Regions from separate parts of the Homo sapiens genome. Here all the other regions are linked to region 3. Evidence: promoter capture Hi-C in 16 types of primary human blood cells and fetal thymus (Javierre and others, 2016). All regions are on one chromosome and are shown on one strand. Each heading gives the region's core, a stretch centred on a gene start or on the middle of the fragment in contact. The rest is flanking DNA. Distances are from core to core; before and after follow the strand shown. Region 1 overlaps MEI1 (meiotic double-stranded break formation protein 1). Region 2 overlaps MEI1 (meiotic double-stranded break formation protein 1). Region 3 holds the start of SHISA8 (shisa family member 8).

What was found. Contacts are between HindIII fragments. The CHiCAGO score rates a contact against its expected background, and 5 or more counts as called.
Region 1: a contact is called between a fragment that was not itself captured here and the fragment with the promoter of SHISA8 in region 3, in 1 of 17 cell types (M1 macrophages). The highest score is 5.7, in M1 macrophages.
Region 2: a fragment that was not itself captured here is called in contact with the fragment with the promoter of SHISA8 in region 3 in 4 of 17 cell types (endothelial precursors, naive CD4 T cells, erythroblasts and 1 more); the score reaches 7.3 in endothelial precursors.

Annotation. Positions count from the first base shown.
Region 1 is chr22:41,714,242-41,718,903 of GRCh38, reverse strand. It overlaps MEI1 (meiotic double-stranded break formation protein 1), which reads right to left. Exons shown (of 31, transcript NM_152513.4): 5 at 2,758-2,863; 6 at 630-833. Among named protein-coding and RNA genes, the nearest start is that of MEI1, 17 kb to the right of the region's middle. The HindIII fragment of the contact is 4,997 bases long and covers 779-4,662 here.
Region 2 is chr22:41,739,349-41,743,966 of GRCh38, reverse strand. It overlaps MEI1 (meiotic double-stranded break formation protein 1), which reads right to left. Exons shown (of 31, transcript NM_152513.4): 12 at 773-887. Among named protein-coding and RNA genes, the nearest start is that of MEI1, 42 kb to the right of the region's middle. The HindIII fragment of the contact is 2,151 bases long and covers 614-2,764 here.
Region 3 is chr22:41,912,068-41,916,547 of GRCh38, reverse strand. It overlaps SHISA8 (shisa family member 8), which reads left to right and starts at 1,474. Exons shown (of 4, transcript NM_001207020.3): 1 at 1,474-2,410. The coding sequence starts at 1,881. It overlaps LOC124905125 (a long non-coding RNA gene), which reads left to right. Exons shown (of 2, transcript XR_007068113.1): 2 at 1-37. RefSeq lists silencers at 1,356-1,515, 1,536-1,615, 1,686-1,755, 1,796-1,875, 2,016-2,095 and 1 more and an enhancer at 1,248-2,173. The HindIII fragment of the contact is 20,830 bases long and covers 1-4,480 here.

The DNA.
Region 1 (4,662 bases), core at 2,028-4,527, 200 kb after region 3:
AAGGCTCTGTCTCAAAAAAAAAGAAAAAAGAAAAAAAAGGACAAGTTCAGTCCCCTCTAGCTTTTTCTCTTGCCCTCTCTTTGCCCTTCCACCATGGGATGACAGAGCAAGAGGGGTTTCACCAACTGCCAGCCTCTTGATCTTGGACTTCCTAGGCTCCAGAACTACAAACCAATAAATTTCTGAACCAATAAGTTTTTCATTATAAATCACCTAGTCTGTGGTATCCTGTTATAGCAGCATAAAATGCACTAAGACACCTAGGCTTTACCCTGGAGGCCAGAGGGAACCATGGAAGAATTTCTGACTTAAGAAAGTGACAGGACGTGAGCTATACAATGTAAAGATTAACTTGCCAGCAAATACAGGATGCACCAGGGCAGGCAGTAAAGGCAGAAAAAATTGCTGTCCCACTTTCCTTCCTATTTTCCTCCAAAGGCAACATTCTTAAGATGTCATACCAACTCTAGGCATCTTTCACACAGTGTGTCTCTTATCTCTCAAGCCTTGTGGCTTCTACCTTTTGCAAAACAGCAAACTTCCCCACTACTAGAGAACCCAATATCTCAAGTCTTCTAGCAAAATGTCAAAAACTTATTCTCCCTTTTTTCTCCAGCCTCATGTCTTACCCAAGCAGTTAATCTGCAGCTCCTTTGTCTGGGCACCATCCAGGATGGAAAGGAAGAGGGGAAAAAGCTTCTCACGGAAGTGTCCTGAAAGCATCTCAGCTGCCACTGGTGAGGAGTATAGCTTCCCATAAAGGTAACAGACAGAAGCTTGTATGCCCTCACTGGGGTATACTAAGCCTCTCAACAGATGCTCCATCAGGTTGCCTGTCCAGAAAACAACCAAGGAGCCAAGGGAAATTTCACAATGTCAACTGCTATATGAAACTCCAATCTATTATTCCTAACGGGGTAGTAATGGTAAGTCCCTATAATCCCCCACAAAAAATGCTTTCTGCATGCTTAATCTAAAGGCAAAACCAAACTGGGCACAGTAACTCACACCTGTAATCCCAGCACTTGGGAAGGCCAAGGCAGAAGGATCACCTAAGGTCAGGAGTTCGAGACCAGCCTGGCCAACAAGACGAGACCCAGCATCTACTAAAAATACAAAAATTAGCCGGGCATGCTGGCACACGCCTGTAATCCCAGCTACTTGAGAAGCTGAGGCAGGAGAATCGCTGAAACCCACGAGGCAGAGGTTGCAGTGAGCCGAGATCATGCCACCACACTCCAGCCTAGGCAACAGAGCGAGACTCCAACTCAAAAAAAAAAAAAAAGAAAAGAAAAAAGAAAAAGAAAGCCAGGTGCAGTGGCTCATTCCTGAAATCTCAGCACTTTGGGAGGCCAAGGTGGGAGGATCACTTGAGACCAGCAGGTTGAGACCAACCTGCTCTACATAGTGAGATCTGGTCTCTAAAAAATAATAATAATTAGGCTGGGCATGGTGCCTCATGGCTGTAATCCCACCACTTTGGGAGGCCGAGGTGGGCAGATCACTTGAAGTCAGGAGTTCAAGACCAGTCTGGCCAACATGGCGAAACCCCACCTCTACTAAAAATACAAAAATTAGCCTGGTGTTGTGGCGGACGCCTATAATCCCAGCTACTCAGGAGGCTGAAGCAGGAAAATCACTTGAACCTGGGAGGCAGAGATTTCAGTAAGCCAAGATCATGCCACTGCGCTGTAGCCCGGTTCTGTCTCAAAAAATTATTATTATTATTATTAATTTTTTTAAAAAGGGGAAACCAACTTAAAGAAGTTATTTACCCTTTGGTAAATCCTCTGGGAGATATTTATTTGCATTTCACTGACAGAAAAAAGTGCTTCTATATTCCAGAATTCCTCCTTCCATCCAAAAGGAAGGTTCATAGTAGGTACTTAATTAATTTGTGTTAAAGAATGAATGGAGCCGGGCGTGGTGGCTCACACCTGTAATCCCAGCACTTTGGGAGACTGAGGCGGGTCCAACAGCAGGTCAGGAGATCGAGACCATCCTGGCTAACATGGTGAAACTCCGTCTCTACTAAAAATACAAAAAATTAGCCAGGCATGGTGGCAGGCGCCTGTAGTCCAAGCTACTCGGGAGGCTGAGGCAGTAGAATGGCGTGAACCCGGGAGGCAGAGCTTGCAGTGAGCCGAGATCGCGCCACTGCACTCCAGCCTGGGCAACAGAGCAAGACTCGTCTCAGGGAAAAAAAAAAAAAAAAAAGAATGAATGGAAGGCCAGCGTGGTGGCTCACGCCTGTAATCCCAGCACTTTGGGAGGCTGAGGCAGGCGGATCACCTGAGGTTGGGAGGTCAAGACCAGCCTGACCAACATGGAGAAACCCCGTCTCTACCAAAAATACAAAATTAGTCCAGCGTGGTGGCACATGCCTGTAATCCCAGCTACTCGGGAGGCTGAGGTAGGAGAATCGCTTGAACCCGGGAGGTGGAGGTTGCAGTGAGTCGAGATTGCGCCATTGCACTCCAGCCTGGGCAACAAGAGCAAGACTCCGTCTCAAAAAAAAAAAAAAAAAAAAAAAAAAAAAAAAAAAAAAGAATGAATGGAAATAGTCCAAGAATAGAGTCAAAAAACTGACCTTTTTCAAATTGACCGACATACAGTACATTTTGCAGACGGGGAAACTGAAGGCTAAAGCAGGAAAGTAATGACTTCCCAGGTGTACAGAGTGAATGGGACACCCAAATGGCAGTATGATAAAAGCAGGTAAAAGGGTAGTGGCAGCTCCTCCCACAGGTCACTCACCATGCTCCATTACAAGCTCGTCTGCCAGAGCAGGGATGGCATCCACCAACTTGCCAAGAAGGGTCAGGGTGGCCAGGCTGCCTCGCATGGAGGGCATGTTACACAGCTACAGAAAGTGAATATGCTCCATTCTGTCAATTAGGATCAGGACAGATCTTCCACCAAAACTGATCTTTCCCTACCCACACCAATGCCTGTATTGCATGTGTCTCTCACCACAGTCAGCAATCAGCTTTTTTAGCTTAGTGTCCAGCTCCCCCACTGGACTGGGAACTCCCAGAGGAAAGGGACTGAGTCCTCTCAGAGTCCTCAGTACCTAGCTCAGTGCATGTTTGTTAAACTGAATTAAAATCTACATATTTTGCCTCCATAGAACCAGAAGTTGGGGGACAAAAGTTTGAAATGTCATAAAGACAGAACACTGACTCGATGCAAAAAAAAAAAATTATTGTTGGCCAGGCGTGGTGGCTCACGCTGTAATCCCAGCATTTTGGGAGGCCGAGGCGGGCGGATCACGAGGTCAGGAGATCGAGACCATCCTGGCTAACACAGTGAAACCCCGTCTCTACTAAAAGTACAAAAAATTAGCCGGGTGTGGTGGGAGGCGCCTGTAGTCCCAGCTACTCGGGAGGCTGAGGCAGGAGAATGGCGTGAACCCGGGAGGCGGAGCTTGCAGTGAGCCAAGATTGCGCCACTGCACTCCAGCCTGGGAAACAGTGAAAGACTCCGTCTCAAAAAAAAAAAAAAAATTATTGTTATCATAGTTATTATAGCTCCTATTACTGAACATTCTCTGTATACCAGGCACTATGCTTCATGCTTTACAGGGAGAGTCAATAGTCCATATTTTACCTTTTCTATTGACTAGCTAGTCATACCACTTTTGGCAAGATTCTTAACTCTGGTGGGAAATAATAATAGTAACAGCTTTATAGGGTTGTTGATAGGGCTGAATGAGATATTACATATAAACCACCTCATACAATCCCTAGCCCATAGAAAGTGCTCAATAAATGTTAAGTGGCATCATCTCATCATAATCATAAGCACTGATATATATAATTATAAATTCAATCTGACATATTAATCATATGTAAAATAACTATGATATAATTGAAATATAATTTATAATGAAATGTTCTTGATGGTTTTAACAAGATAAACATTTGTTTTCCTTCTGCAAATTAAATAAAAAGTTATTCTGATATTATTCCTCAGTCTTAAATACAACACAAAAGCTGCTCTTTAACTGATATTTTTTTTTTTTAGATGGAGTCTTGCTTTGTCACCCAGGCTGGGGTGCAGTGGTGCGATCTCAGCTCACTGCAAACTCCACCTCCTGGGTTCATGCAATTCCCCTGCCTCAGCCTCCCCAGTAGCTGGGATTACTTGCATGCACCACCACGCCCAGCTAATTTTTTTTTTTTTTTGTATTTTTAGTAGAGACGGGGTTTCACCATAATGGCCAGGCTGATCTCGAACTCCTGACCTCAAGTGATCCACCCACCTCAGCCTCCCAAAGTGCTGGGATTACAGGTGTGAGCCATTGTGCCTGGCTAACTAATTTCTTTGACTACACTGAAGAAAGCAGATTAAACATACCATATCCACTCAATGCTTACCTCAGATAGAAGCAAACGCCTTCAGTACAAAGTAAGCTGATAGAACCAAACACCTTCAGTACTAAGTAATGTATACAATTCAAAATTAAATAAAACCACCAAAACAAGACATAGAGAACATATTTCCTTGACAACTTCATCAAGGAAATCTGTATTATAATTAGGAAGTCACGGAAAATGAACCATGGGATGATTATGCCAGAAAGATGGCACTTCATTGCATGGAGGTAACATTTGGGAGATTGAAAGGGGAAAGAAGAAAGCTGTAAAGAACACTGGAGCA
Region 2 (4,618 bases), core at 440-2,939, 170 kb after region 3:
AGGCGGAGGTTGCAGTGAGTCGAGATCGTGCCACTGCACTCCAGACTGGGGCCACAGAGTAAGACTCCATCTCGGGAAAAAAAAAAATGGTAGCAGTGTTGGAGGGACCCTAACCTACAGTCTCTCTGAACCACAGGAATGACTATTGGTCTATTATATGCAGAAAGCTGTCACAGGCTAGTGGGCATTAGCTTGACTATAATGGCCCTATTAGTTGCTCTAAAACACAAGAAAATCCCCACTCCATCAGGTGTAAAGAGCTTAGTTTCCAAAGTTAATCCTGAAAGACATAATCAACATTCACACTGACAGTGTCTTTCCTGATATCTTAAGTCTACAGGCTATTAAAAGCCAGCAGCTACAACACATGGCACATTGGTCAGATTCTAAGATTCTAGTGAATTCAGACTTAAATAATTTTGTGAGCATGTTTACCCTATCTGCTTATATGATATAAACAGAGAATGTGTGTAATAGACTGGGGTAAAAACACCCTGGAATTTACTGTTCTAGGCTTAGGTACTTTATAGTTTTGGACCTTAGAGAAAAATTATTTAACCCTCGTGGCTTTAGTTTCCCCATCTGTAAAAATGACAATAGTAATCCTTAAGCTTCATAGTTCTGCTATTAGGGAAAAAGCATCTCATTGTAGCCATGTGTGCATGAGAAAAAGTCATGAAATAGCATACAAAAGTAAGGGAATATACTAATTATCTTTCTAAAAACACACTGCAGCATGATCTTCGGAAGCAGCAGGCTGCAGTACACTGACCAGGGGCCTCCTGCTCAGCAAGGTCTGGGAAAACTCCGCACATCGGTTTAGCATGGCTTCTAGCAAAGCCTGCAGTTCCCCATACTGCACAGGTGGAGTGCTCTGATGGTCCTTCCTGCATCCAGAGAGACAAAAGCAGGTTCACGGTAAGGCAACGGTATTCCCAAGATAACCCCAGGTTCTCAGGCAATGAGAGGCAGTGCAGTTGGATCAGAACATGGAATCTAATCTGATAAAAATCCTTACTCCAGGCCAGGAATGGTGGCTCACGCCTGTTAATTCCAGCACTTTGGGAGACTGAGATGAGTAGATGTCTTGAGTCCAGGAGATGGAGACCAGCCTGGGCAACATGGTGAAACCCAGTCTCCACAAAAATTAGCCAAGTGTGGTGGCATACACCTGTGATTTCAGTTACTCAAGAGGCAGAGGTGGGAGGATCACCTGAGCCCAAGAAGGTAGAAGCTGCAGTGAGCCGTGATCATACTACTGCAATCCAGCCTGGGTGACAGAACAAGACTTTGTCTCAAAAAAATCCTTACTTCAATGCTTATCTAACTGCACAACTTCTTGTACATTCCTTGCCCTCTCTAACCATCAATTTCCTCATCTATTAAATGAGGCTAATAGTACTCTCCTCATAGACTTATTATGGGGATCAAATTCGATAATGTATGCCAAACACTTAGCATGATGCTTAATACGTAATAAGTCCTTATAAATGTCAGCTGTGTCTATTATTACTATTAAGGATACAAGGTTTTCTCGCAGAGGAGAGCCTGCTGGTAAAAGAAGCACTACCTAGAATTGAACGTGCATCAAGAGAGTGACAGCTACTGTTTTCCAATAAGTAATAAGCTCTTCTGGGGAAGAGGGATCAAACTTTGTTAACTCAACGAGGAAAACCAGGATCAACAGGTAAATGTTACTAAGATCCAGAGATGGAGTCTCACTCTGTCACCCAGGCTGGAGTGCAGTGGTGTGATCTTGGCTCCCTGCAACCTCCATCTCCCAGATCCAAGCAATTCTCCTGCCTCAGCCACCTGAGTAACTGGGACTACAGGCGCACACCACTACACCCAGCTAAGTTTTGTACTTTTAGTAGAGATGAGATTTCACCATGTTGGCCAGGCTGGTTTCAAACTCCTGACCTCAAGTTATCCACCCACCACAGCTTCCCAAAGTGTGGGATTACAGGCATGAGCCACTGCACCCAGCCTGAGAACTTTCTTTTCTCTTTTTTTTTTTTTTTTTTGAGATGGAGTCTCGCTCTGTCACCAGGCTGGGGTACAGTGGCGCAATCTAAGCTCACTGCAACCTCTGCCTCCCGGGTTTAAGTGATTCTCCTGCCTCAGCCTCCCAAGTAGCTGGGACTACAGGCGCACGCCACCACACCCAGTTAATTTTTGTATTTTTAGTAGAGACGGGGTTTCTTGACCTCATGATCTGCCGCCTCAGCCTCTCAAAGTGCTGGAATTACAAGCGTGAGCCACCACGCCCAGCATCAGCCTGAGAATTTTCTGAGTCAAAGTCTATAGAAGTATTGGGGACCATCTCTAGGGAGAAGTGATTCCCCATTCTATGAGACTATACGCAGAGACTGGAAAAGTACTTTTGGAGATTCAATCATTATGAGTGTGGGGTAAATGTAGACAGGTAACACCTAAGGCCCATTTGAACCCTCAGATTCTATAGACTCAGAAGAGCCAACAGTCATTGACTAGTTTAATTGTGAGTTTCCAAGAGGAAAGGGACCAGTTCCATCTTTTCACTTTACCTAAACAGAGACAGATGCATTGTAAGTTGATGATTAATAGAACAGATGTCAAATGAATGAATGACTATTTCACAGGGTATTGGTTTCTTAGGGCTGCTATAATAAATTACCACAAACTGTGTGGCTTAAAACAACAGAAGTTTATCCTCTCACAGTTCTGGAGGCTAGAAATCTGAAATTGAGGTGTCGTCAGGGCCATGTCCCCTCTAAAGCAAGCTTGTCCCACCCACAGCCCACAGGCCGCATGCAGCCCAGGACAACTTTGAATGCAGCCTGACACAAATTTGTAAACTTTCTTAAAACATTATGATATGAAACCCTGTCTCTACTAAAAATACAAAATTTAGCTGGGCATGGTGGCGCGTGCCTGTAATCCCAGCTACTCGGCAGGCTGAGGCAGGAGAATCGCTTGAACCAGGGAGTTGGAGGTTGCAGCGAGCCAAGATCACATCACAGCACTCCAGCCTGGTGACAGAGCAAGACCCTCATCCCTGAGCCTTTGTTGAGCACTGAGAGCCATCTGTTGGGCCTTCTAACAGGTTCTCAGTCAACTGCATATGGTTACGGCTTGATTTCCCCTTTCCTTCTTCATCTCTGGAAGCTCCAAGTTTGACGATCCTACACGATCATCAAGCCCTAGTTCCACCACCTTTAAATTCTTGGGTTTGTTTTTGTTTTTGTTTTTGTTTTTGAGACAGGGTCTCGCTCTGCTGCCCAGGCTGGAGTGCAGTGGCACAAACACAACTCACAGCAGCCTCAATCTCCTGGGCTCAAGCAATCTTCCTGCCTCAGCCTCTTGAGTAGCCGGGACTACAGGCATACACCAAGCTTGGATAATTTTTGTAGAGATAGCGTTTCCTCAGGTTATCCAGGCTAGTCTCAAATTCCTGAGCTGAAGCGATCCTCCAGCCTCAGCCTCCCAAAGTGCTGGGATTACAGGTGTGAGCCACTATACCCGGCCTCTTTAAATTCTTTTTAGCAGCTCTCACTCTTCATTCTTCCTTCTAGTTGTGCTTTCCAAAGACACTCTGAACCACCCCACCTCAGAGGGACCACGTCAGTAAACATTCTGGGAAGTTAAAGTCAAAAGTAAAATCATCTTTGGCCGGGCGCGGTGGATCACGCCTATAATCCCAGCACTTTGGGAGGCTGAGGCAGGCAGATCACAAGGTCAGGAATTCGATACCAGCCTGGCCAATATGGTGAAAACGCATCTCTACTAAAAATACAAGAAGTATCCAGGCGTGGTGGCGGGCACCTGTAGTCCCAGCTACTCGCGAGGCTAAGGCAGGAGAATCGTTTGAACCTGGGAGGTGGAGGTTGTGGTGAACCGAGATCGAGCCACTGAACTCCAGCCTGAGCAACAGAGCGAGACTCCACCCCCCCCACCAAAAAAAAAGTAAAATAATCCAAGGCTTAATAACCTGCCCCCTATCCATCTCTCTCCACAATTCTGACCCAACAGCTTTCCTGCTTCTCCAGGCAACACCCGCTTCATGTAACCTGCTGGTCAACTGGCTACTGCACCCTGAGCAATCTCTATACTCTCGAACCCAAATGTTTTGCTAATCCAGGTCCTTCCACAAATCTAACTCTCACCCTTCATAGTACAACTGAAATACCACTTCCTGCCCAAAAGGCACTACTGGTCCCCTCTAGCAGTGTCCTGCTGGAAGACTTCCAGCTCAGCATAGATGCCTCTGATTGACATTGCTCTTACTTATGCTTTTGTTACCTTGTTGGTTTACTCATCCCTCCCACTCTAGAATTCATGTCCTAGATTTAGAGATTCAAATTCAGGGAAGGACAAAGGAGGAAAGAAGACAGACTGAAGTCACTGTCACGTAAATGCTATTTTTTGTTTCAATTTTTAGAACCAACCTAGAGTCAAATCACAAAGACTTAAATATAGTTACAGAAGAGACTATAAATATTAACAACTTTCACAATGTAAAATTAAAGGTATAGCTGACTGGCCTTGAGAAGTAGAAGTAGGGAAGAGAGGGGAAAAGAAGAGTTGGGGTGCTGCTAACCACGTAGGAACTCAGGAGACACTGCTTCAAGTTGAGGGA
Region 3 (4,480 bases), core at 225-2,724:
TTGTCTCTGGACATGGGATTAAAGCAATTTCATTTAATTCCTTTGTTCATCTGTGTTTTTTCTTCTAAACTGGTAATAAGGGGTCCTTTAATGAGGGTGGGTTTTCGGGGCTGGATGGGAAGTGTGTGTACATGTGTGTGCACATGTGTGTGTGTAGGTGGAGGGAGCAGGCTGTCTTTGGCCAGGGCACAAGGAGAAGCTCTGAGTGGGGAGGTCACCTCCTCTTCCTGTCTGAACCCATTAATACCTGAAATTAGTCTGTCAGCCCCTCATGTCAGGCAACAGACTTGATCCTCCTTAAAATGTAAATCCTTCCTCTTCTTCTCCCCCACCTTCTCCACTTTCATAAGCTGGTCCCAGTTGCTGAGAGAAGGACGGATGGAAAGGGGACCAGGAGGGACCCTAGGGAGCCCCAAATGTTTCATCTCACAGAAACTAGGCGCTGGAGTCCTTTCATTCATTTATTCATTCAGCAAATGCCGACAGAGGCCTGAGCTGCACACTGGGTGAATTGCACGCCCAGTCCTTGCCCTCCTGCTGTTTCCGTCTGGACAGAGGGAGGTTCCATATCGACCCCTATCTCCTGGAAGGGGCAGATTATGAGTCTGCCCTCCAGGAAGAGTCTTTGATGTTAAGATGAGATACTGAGGCAGGGAGAAGCCAAGCACCAGGACCTTCTCCAGTTCAACTCAACCCCGAAAACACCACTGGGCCGTGCTGGGACCGGGTCCGGGCTCCTTAGGGCCCCCACACCCTACCCCTCGGTTTGTGAAAGGACCTGCGGGTGGGCGCAGGGCGGAGGTCTTCCTTTTCCAGGCTTTCCTTTTCCAGGGCAGGGGCGAGCCCAGTCCCCCTCTCCTCACACCTGGGGAGGGAGCAGATCGCGGAAGTGCGTCAGCCAAGCCGTGCCCATCGACGCAGGGATGGGGACATCCCTGGACCCCAGCCCAGCGTTCGAGGGGTTCTGGAACTGGGCTCGCGCCGTGGGGTAAATCCTTGGCCCTCTGAAGCGGCGCTGCCAGGGGAAGTCCTTCCCATTTGACAGGTGGGAAAATCGAGGCGCCGAGAGGGGAAGGGGCCCTCCTTATGTTATGATCAGAACGGACAGAGGGGACGGGAAGGAGGTGAGAGGGTGGCCCTGCCCGTCCCGGGGCAATTCCGGGCTGCTTTGACCTCCGCGCCTGTAAGGTACAGGTCCCCGCACCTGTAAGACAGGGACGCTCTAGTCGCGGGCCCTAGAACTGATCCCCTTCGAGCGCCCAGTTCCGATGAATGTTTCGGGGCAGTCTTTGTGGAGGGGGGTTCCCTGTGGGGCCTCCCGGCTCCGCGGGGCCTGCTGCCTCCTCTCGCCCCTCGCGGCAGCCGCGCTCCTCCCCCGGCTCTGCCTCCCTTCCGCCCTCCCTCCTCTCTCCCTCCCCCGCCCGCCCGAGCCCGCGCCGAGCCCGAGCGGGAGCCGGAGCCGGAGCCGGAGCCAGAGCGCGGGCTGTACTGAGAGCGCGGCGGGAAGGTAGCGCAGTCGGGCGGCCCGCGGCCCCGGCGCGGCCTCCGCTAGGGCCAAGACCCGCACACCTGCCGGGCCGGGGAGAAGCCGGGGGCCGCGCGCAGGCGAGGACCCGCCGCCCGGCCCGGGGAAGATCTCAGGACGCGGACCGGGCAGCTCGGGTCCGAGGTGAGCCCGGGCGGAGGACGCGCCCACCGGAGGTGCGGCCTCGGAGCTCCAGACCCAGCCCACTCGGGGCTGGGGTCCCCAGAGGAGGCCGACGGCCGAGGCGGCGTGCGCCGGGAGCCAGCGCGATCCCTGCGGGAGCGGAGGAGCCGAGCCGGAGGGAGCCGCGGCGCCCGGCCATGCACCGGGCGCAGTAGCGGGAGGCGCGGGCCCGATGGCGCGGGCCGGGGCGCGGGGACTGCTCGGCGGCCGCCGTCCTCCCGGCCTCCGGCTCGCGCTCGCGCTTCGGCTCGCGTTGCTGCTGGCGCGGCCGCCGTCGGGCCGCGCGGGAGCCCCCGAGGCGCAGGGTCCCGCGGCGCCCGGCACGACAGCCCCGGAGGGGGGCGACCGCTGCCGCGGCTACTACGACGTGATGGGCCAGTGGGACCCGCCCTTCAACTGCAGCTCCGGAGCCTACAGCTTCTGCTGCGGCACGTGCGGCTACCGCTTCTGCTGCCACGACGGGCCGCGGCGCCTCGACCAGAGCCGCTGTTCCAACTACGACACGCCGGCCTGGGTCCAGACAGGCCGGCCGCCCGCCCGCGCCCGCGACACCGCAGCGCCCCGGGACCCCGGCCGCGAGCGCAGCCATACGGCCGTCTACGCTGTGTGCGGCGTCGCAGCGCTGCTGGTGCTGGCCGGCATCGGGGCGCGCCTGGGACTGGAGAGGGCGCACAGCCCGCGCGCGCGGCGCACAGTGACCAGGTGAGCACGCGCCGCCCAGGGACCCCCGCCTGCTCCTCGGACTGCTCTCCCTGCCCGCTGATCCTTCCCGCCGCTCTCGAAGCGCTGGTTCTCCCAGCAGGCCCCTTCTCTGGGTTTTCCTGTCTCCTTCTCCCCCCGCCGCCCCCCCAACACTTCATCAGGGAGACACCTGACACCGCCCTGACTCCCTTTGACCTTCTGCCCGTGCTGGGCGCCGCACCGCCTTTCCCTGCTCGAGTCTCCTCTGGAGGGCAGGGGGGTGGGGGCGGGCTGGGAGGGGGACAGGTAGCCTTGCACAGAGGGCACCGGGTCACTGTCCAGGGTAAGGGGCGCCGCTGGCCAGGGAGGTGACCGGGCGTCTTGGGCACGGGAAAGGAAGGGGCGCTTGGTTCTCTGGGTGCCCATCTCCTGCTTCTCCCCACTCCTCCCTCCCCTCTTCCACCTCCTGCCTCTCCCCTGCCCCCACAGCTGTGACTCAAGGCTGCCCTTCCCTCCTTGGGTTTCAAAGGCCTCCCCCCACTCACCCCATGCCACAGCTCCCAGGTGAAGGTCAGGGCTCCCTCTGCGTAGAAAGGGGACTCTGGAACACAGTCGTGTGTTGCTGAGGCCAGGACAGGTGCTTGTTGCATTCTGAGCTTGGTGTGAAGTGGGCACTACAGGGTCCAGGTCCCCTTCCTCGGTTGGAACGAGGACTCTAGGACTCTATGTGTCCTGACCCTGGAACTCCCACCCACATGCCACACGTGGCACTCACATGCCCCCAGCAACCCCCATGCCCTGGGGCCTGTGCCCTCCTCATCCACCCGGTCCCAGCACCCTTTGGGCCTGTGGGCTGCTGACACCGAATGTGACAGGCTGGTATTTAAAAGTGACCATAGAGAAGCCTTCATACCCTGGCAGGCCAGATGTGGACACTTCCCCCTCCTGGGCCTCAGAGGCAGGGGGTGAGGGCTTCCTTGGCACTTCAGCACCCCTCGCTCCCGAAACCACGTAGCCCACTTTCTCCCAGGGAGCTCTAAGGGAAGCCCGGGCTGGCACCCTGGCCTCCACCCTCAGCTTCTGCACTGCCTTCAGGAGGTGGAGCCTCCTGGCCTGGCTTCTGGATGCTGCAGGGGTAGGGGCTGGGCTGCCCAAATTTGGGGGTCCCCCATGATGGGTGAGGGTAGCTTGGAAGAGGCCTGGATATGTCTTTGACAGGGGCGGGGAAAAAGGAACTTAGGGCTGCGATGGTGAGGGGTGGCTGCAGCAGCCCAGCTGACATGTTCATCCTGAACTCCCTGCACCTGCTGGGGATGGGGCAGCAGGTTTGGTGATGCCGCAGGAAAGCCATGCCCACCCTTGCTGTGCTGTGTGGTGTAGGCCAGTCCCTTCTCCTTTCTGGGCTTCAGGCTCCCATGGCCCCAACTCCCTTTTCTCTGCTGGGGAGACCTGGAATGGGACGTAGGCTTGTGTGTGGGTGTGTCCTGAGTCCCTGTCCTCCCCTCGAGTCTCACCCTTCATTCTGCTGTGTTGGGGTTGAAGGCCAGGGAAGGCTTCTCAGAGGGCTTGGGCGGGGCATCTGGAAAGAGTTTGTGCAAAGGCCCAGAGGCGTGGTGGTTACTCAGCTGTCAGGGAGACAGGAGCTTGAGGTGCTTGCCCAGAGATGAGGCCACAGAGGTGAGCCTCTGGGGAGAGGGCAGGGCAGGAAGGTCAGCCCAGGCAGGTACTAGGATGGTTTCAGACCCTGCCACCAAACCTGAAGCCAAACCTCGGCCATCCCTGGTGTCCTGCCTCCTGAATGACCTTCACGAATCAGCCATTTGAGGCTCTAGCCCCGGAAGGAGGGTCAGGCTGAGTGGGAGAAAATCATGGGTTCCGGGTTCTGAAGGCAGCTGGGCTGCAGACACTGTCACATCACAGCTGGGTGGGGGCTGGGTGTTGGGTCCAAGGAGGTGGCTGTCCAAGGTCACACAGCCTGTGGGTCCTGGGCTGCCACCAGGGGGTCTCCCAACATCCCCATTCCGTCACCCATCTGTCCTTCATGCCCGTGATGGCAGCTTTATCCCAGGTCCCAGCAGAAGCCGCGGCTGC